Regions from separate parts of the Homo sapiens genome. Here region 1 is linked to region 2. Evidence: promoter capture Hi-C in human tissues and cell types (Jung and others, 2019). All regions are on one chromosome and are shown on one strand. Each heading gives the region's core, a stretch centred on a gene start or on the middle of the fragment in contact. The rest is flanking DNA. Distances are from core to core; before and after follow the strand shown. Region 1 overlaps NMNAT2 (nicotinamide nucleotide adenylyltransferase 2). Region 2 holds the start of NMNAT2 (nicotinamide nucleotide adenylyltransferase 2).

Region 1 (2,862 bases), core at 95-2,594, 43 kb after region 2:
CCAAAGTACAAAGGATATACTCTTGGAATAGTGAACAGTCCTTTACTTGGAATAAATTTAGCCTTCAATAAAGTGAAGTCAATTTTTTCCACTCCTCATCATAGATCAATGGATGCTTACTTATAGACCAGCACAAGCACTCAGCCATCACTCATGAGCCATTGCTGTAGAGCCTGGCTGTTTTTTCACATAGCTCTATCTTCTATATTTTTGTTGTAAACTCCTGGAAAGGAGAATCATGTCATATTCACCTCTGTTTCTCCAATTTTACCCTCAAATGTGACCCACTTAATAGGTTCTCAACTAATGAGATTAATAATGAATATTAATTATTAATACCATTAATTTATTATATCAGTACATTAATATTAATAAAACACATAGGTTGTCCTCATAAATGTTAGCTGAACAGAACTGGATGTCAAGATATCATGACCTCTTCAGCACTCCTTAGGTGTTCCCCAGTACTTCCTAGGCCTACCTGGAAGGATGGGAATTTAATTTTTTTACCTTTCATCTTAATAGCATTAGTGAGTGACCACTTTGAGTGAGGTGTTTCTTTTCAGATGTGGTGGGAGATGAAAAAGATACTCAAGACAAGAGTTTTGCCCTTAAGTGGTTTATAATTATCTACACAGCACAGGTTGTTCTAATACCAGAGTGTGATCAATAACCTAATTATGAACACACAGTGCCAAGAGAACAGAGGAGAAAGTGTTCATGTACCCATTGACTCATAAGTACTCTGAGAGGCTTTGTTCTGGACTTAGTTGGAGGGAGGAGAATAAACATGGACTCTTCGTTCAATGGATAGTAGTCAAGAAGTAATGCCACCAAGGTATAAGAAACTAATGGAGGGATTGGAAAGAGCATGGTGGTCAAGGAATTGAGAGGGGAGCAGCTACTTCTTCCAGGAGATAGGGGAGGCTGCAGGTGGTCAGAGAATTAATGCTGACTTGGGGAAATCCAAGAAGTTTTCTTAGAGAAAGTGAGTTGAGACTTGAGTTGTCTTTGAAGCTGTGTAGAACTTGGATACATGTGTGTGGAAGAGAGGAATTGCCACAGGAAACAGCCTGGGCAAAGGCATAGGGGAGGGAAAGCGCAAGTCAGGCTCAGGAAATAGAAAGTGCTGAAGAGTAAGTGGGGAGTAGGGTGTGGAGTTGGGGGACAGTGGAGTAGAAGATGTGGCTGAAGAGGCTGGCCAGAGCCAAACTATGGCTGGCACAGAGCAGGTGCTCCATAAATATTTGTCAAATGATTGGATAAATAAAGGGAAGCACTGGCCATGGGTTGTTATTATTTGTTTATTTATTTATTTTAGTAGCTAATGGTGAAGAATTCTGAATAGGGAGGTGGTAAGATCATATTATGATGGCAGGTCTGTGGAGGACAAAGGAGAGACAAAGCCGATGGGGGTAGGGGCATGAGTTAGGAAGCTGTGGTGATTGTCCTAAGAGGCCTTCCTGCCCCCAGTCCTGAAAAACCTGATTCTCTGCTTCCCTGAAAAGCTAGGCTGGAATGCTTCCCTCTTTTGAAACATTTAGGGATCGATGAATGTCAACACTCAAGCTAAATGCAGACCATGTTTAGACACACACTAGGAATATCAACACACATCCTATTCCTAGGGAGGGGACTAAAGTCTTCCAGTTGCATTGTTCCAAGGTCAGTCTGACTACAAGGGAGCATCTGGGGAAGTGACACTCAGTGTGGCTGTCAGCCCTGAAGACTGCCTAAGCCTCTGAAACTCCTAAGCTTGATGGTTCTCATTATGGCTTCCTAGAGAGAAGATGGAAAGCCATCTGATGTTCCTCTCTTAGCACTCCTCATCTACTTGGTATTGATATTAATAAACAATGAAATCACAGGATACAGCTTAAGTAAATCTATTTTCCTTGCATGTGGTACAACACAGTTTGAAAATAAAAACAAATCAAATGCTCTGAAAGGAAAATGAATGTAAATTAAGATCTGGAGAAATTTGTCAGCATCTGAGCATTTATTTTGCTTTCATCTCCCCTTTAAATCAAACTAAACCATTTTCTGAAGCTCAGATGTGAATCACAGCCCCTTCTGGAATGAATGATTATGACTCCGGCCTAGTTTAAGCAGATGATCCCCCATAAGTGGGGAGAGAAAGGCTCTTCTTGACGGGGTAGAAGGCTCTGAGGCCAGCGGCCTCTTGAGGACAGATGGCCTGGTCTGGAATTGCACAGGTGAGGTGCCCAGAGCCAGGGGGGTGCAAGCAGATTCCTGAAGTCTATCTTCCCTTTGGAGGAAACATCACTTTTTTGCTTTTTATCTGTTGGTAATTCTTCTTGTCAAAATAAATGGTGCCACGGTATACTGGTTGAGTGTAGACTTAGGGAGAGAGGGAATTGGTTCAGACCCTCAACCCTACATGGATGACCTTGGAGCAGTTACTTACATTCTCTGAACTTCAGATTCCTTACCTAAAATTTGAGGACAACAACACCTGAGTTATTGTATCCAACACCTGAGTTATTGCATAAGAGTTACATGAAATAATATACAAAATGTATTTAGCAAAGTGACACATAATGATTGCTCAATACAAGGTAGCACTTCTTAATTACTAATAAAGAATAAAGTTCAACTGGCCAGGCGCAGTGGCTCATGCCTGTAATCCCAGCACTTTGGGAGGCTGAGGCGGGCAGATCACTTGAGGTCACAAGTTTGAGACCAGCTTGGCCAACATGGTAAAACCTCATCTCTACTAAAAATACAAAAATTAGCCGGGCATGGTTGCGTGTGCCTGTAGTCCCAGCTACTTTGGAGGCTGAGAGAGGAGAATCACTTGAACCCAGGAGGCGGAGGTTGCAGTGAGCCGAGATGGCACCA
Region 2 (2,844 bases), core at 260-2,759:
TCCCCTGCTTAAAAGCTTCAGTGGCTTCCTTTTGTTATTATTCCACTTAGAAAAGTGTCTAACTCTTGCCCTAGTCTACAAGCCCCATTTGATCTGGCCCTGATCACCTGCTGCTCAGTCTTCTATCATTTTTCCCCTTGCCCATACTTTCTAGCATCACTGGCCTTTCATTTCTATGAATACAGTAAGCCCTTCCCTGTCCCTGAATACGTGAGCTAGCAACTACTCCTGTCGCTCAGGTCTCACTGAAATGTCACCTCCCCAGAGAGGCCTTCTCAGACTACTTGATTCGTCCTCTCTTCTCCACTCACTCTCTGCTCTGTCAGAGAGTAAATTGCATTCACTTACTGTGCATTGCACAATTGCCATCTAATATTTATTGTCTATCTTCCTCCAGTAAAATGAAGACAGTGACTTTGCTTCACCAGCAGGGTTTATAGCAATACTTGACACATAATGAGCCCTCAAGAAACACTTGTTAAATGGTAAGTCTTTGTCTCAACTTTGGTAGCTTATGGAGGATCCCCATCATTTTCTTTTTTCTTTTTTTTTGTTTCGAGATGGATTCTCGCTGTCGCCCAGGTTGGAGTGCAGTGGTGCGATCTTCGCTCACTGCAACCTCTGCCTCCCAGGTTCAAGCAATTCTCCTGCCTCAGCCTCCTGAGTAGCTGGGATTACAAGCACTCGCCACCATGCCCGGCTAGTTTTTGTATTTGCTTTTTAGTAGAGACAGGGTTTCACCGTGCTGGCCAGGCTGGTCTCGAACTCCTGACCTCGTGATCCGCCCGCCTCGGCCTCCCAAAGTGCTGAGATTACAGGCATGAGCCACCGCACCCGGCGGATCCCCATAATTTTCTAATACAGTTTTAGTAACTCTGCCCCCTTCATGTTCTCTCAAACGGATAGCATTGCTTCGCCCACGAAAAGGATCAGTATTGCAGAGGAAGGGCTTAGATCACCCCTATCTCTCTGCAGCCAGCAGATCAAGATTTGGACTCAACTCAATAGTTTGGAATCATCAGATAAAGGAAAAAGGAAAAGCAGAAATGAATACTACTGAAATAAACAATGGTCATTTCTCACTTAAAATTTTGAGGAAGAGAGAAAGAAAAAATACCTTAAGATCAAACATTTTTTAACTTGGAGATGTTAGAGAAAGTAGGGGGGACAGAAAAATGTTAGAATGAGGAGGAAAACTGAATCAAGATGAGGCAAGAGGCAGAAAGAGCTCACACCATGCTGTGGGCTCTTGGTTCTGAGCTTGGATACCACGTCTTGCCTTCTGGATAAACTCTAAGGAAGACAGTGATGGAGTGAAGTGGGCTGGGGGCGATAGAGAGGATGGGGTGGGGCACCAGGCGAGAGATGCGAAGGAAGCCAGAACGAAAAGAGAGCGACCGAGGAGAGAAGAGAGCAGAGCAATACAAAAGCAGCCTCGGATCTAGCCGGAGCTGCAAGCGTTAAGGGGAGGCGGAGAGTGACGCGGTTTGCGTCTGGAGCGGCTCCTTGGAGTCCACAGCATCCACCGCCGGAGCCTCGCCTTCCTTTCTCCCTCTGCAGACACAACGAGACACAAAAAGAGAGGCAACCCCTAGACCACCGCGAAGGACCCATCTGCACCATGACCGAGACCACCAAGACCCACGTTATCTTGCTCGCCTGCGGCAGCTTCAATCCCATCACCAAAGGGCACATTCAGATGTTTGGTGAGTCCTCCCGCCCACCTCTGGAAGCCGCTTCCGCTCCTCTCCTTTCCCAGGCACCTGTGTTTTCCAGGGCGATCGAACGGGAAGGCGTGTGCCCCTTCGGAGGGGTGGGCCGGCTCATCCAGCTGGTGGAGGTCGGCCCCTTCATTTTGGACTCAGGGGAGGGTACGCAGACTGCGTTTCCGAGGCGTCACTTGCCGGGGCCAGACCCGGCTCGCAGGGGGCCAAAGGTGGGGGATGGGAGGGGACTAGAGATGAGTATCATTTGGGGCTGGGCAGGGGTTCGAGATACCAGAACTGGAGTGTGGCGGTGCGGTGGTTCGGCTACCAGGCTGGCGAAGACCGGGATGGGGGCAGAGGTTGGGGCGCCGAGTAGGGGAGGAAGGGGCTGGAGATAACGTGCTGTTTGTTTAGGATGGGCCGAAAGCTCGAAGGAGTTAAATCATGTATGTGCCTGGGATTCGCAAACACACTCGCGCCCGACACACCGGTGACAGGGGCTGGGGCTTCAAGATTAATTTCGGATTTGGCTGGTGATTCTGGGCGGCCCAGGGACCAGTGTTTGGGAATTGTGGGCCGTGTATTGCCCGCGCGAGGTGGATGCTGAGTGAATAGGGAGGGGGCCCTTTTCCGCCTAGGTTCGGCCTCAGGGACCCGCTGCCTAGGACGGGGAGGGGGCCGGGCGGAGGCTGCGGGAGGCCCTGCGCGAGCCGGAGCCGAAGGATCGGGGCCCAAGTTGGCTGAGGCTCTGCCCAGGGTGGCGATGGCACTCGGAAGGCTTGAGGCGTCTAGTGTGTGTACGAATGTGCGAATGACTGTGTGTGAGTATATGCGTGTGCGTGTTGGGGGGAGGGGACTTATCGCGCGTTTGTTTCTTAGAAGCTTTGGGGCGTGGAGTCAGAGAGAGCGAGCGGGGGCATCCGGCTGGCTGGTTCGGGGTCCAGCAGCGGTAGGGGAAAGGTGATCGATAGATGCCTATTGGAGGTCTCGCGCCACCGGTGGGAAGCCACGCGGCTTCGCAGCTGCTCGTAGGACTCAAAGGCGTGGGGCATGAGCGTTTAGACACGGAAAGAGGGACGCGGAGGTCACTTTAGAAGCAGGAATTGAGAAGTTAGAAGTTGGGGGTGCTTTTTCTTGA

What was found. Contacts are between HindIII fragments. The study calls those that stand out against the background at their distance.
Region 1: a fragment that was not itself captured here is called in contact with the fragment with the promoter of NMNAT2 in region 2 in 1 of the 25 tissues and cell types used here (heart right ventricle).

Annotation. Positions count from the first base shown.
Region 1 is chr1:183,373,675-183,376,536 of GRCh38, reverse strand. All of the region lies in intron 1 of NMNAT2 (nicotinamide nucleotide adenylyltransferase 2), which reads left to right. Among named protein-coding and RNA genes, the nearest start is that of NMNAT2, 43 kb to the left of the region's middle. The HindIII fragment of the contact is 5,992 bases long and covers 1-2,862 here.
Region 2 is chr1:183,417,045-183,419,888 of GRCh38, reverse strand. It overlaps NMNAT2 (nicotinamide nucleotide adenylyltransferase 2), which reads left to right and starts at 1,509. Exons shown (of 11, transcript NM_015039.4): 1 at 1,509-1,706. The coding sequence starts at 1,622. The HindIII fragment of the contact is 5,834 bases long and covers 1-2,844 here.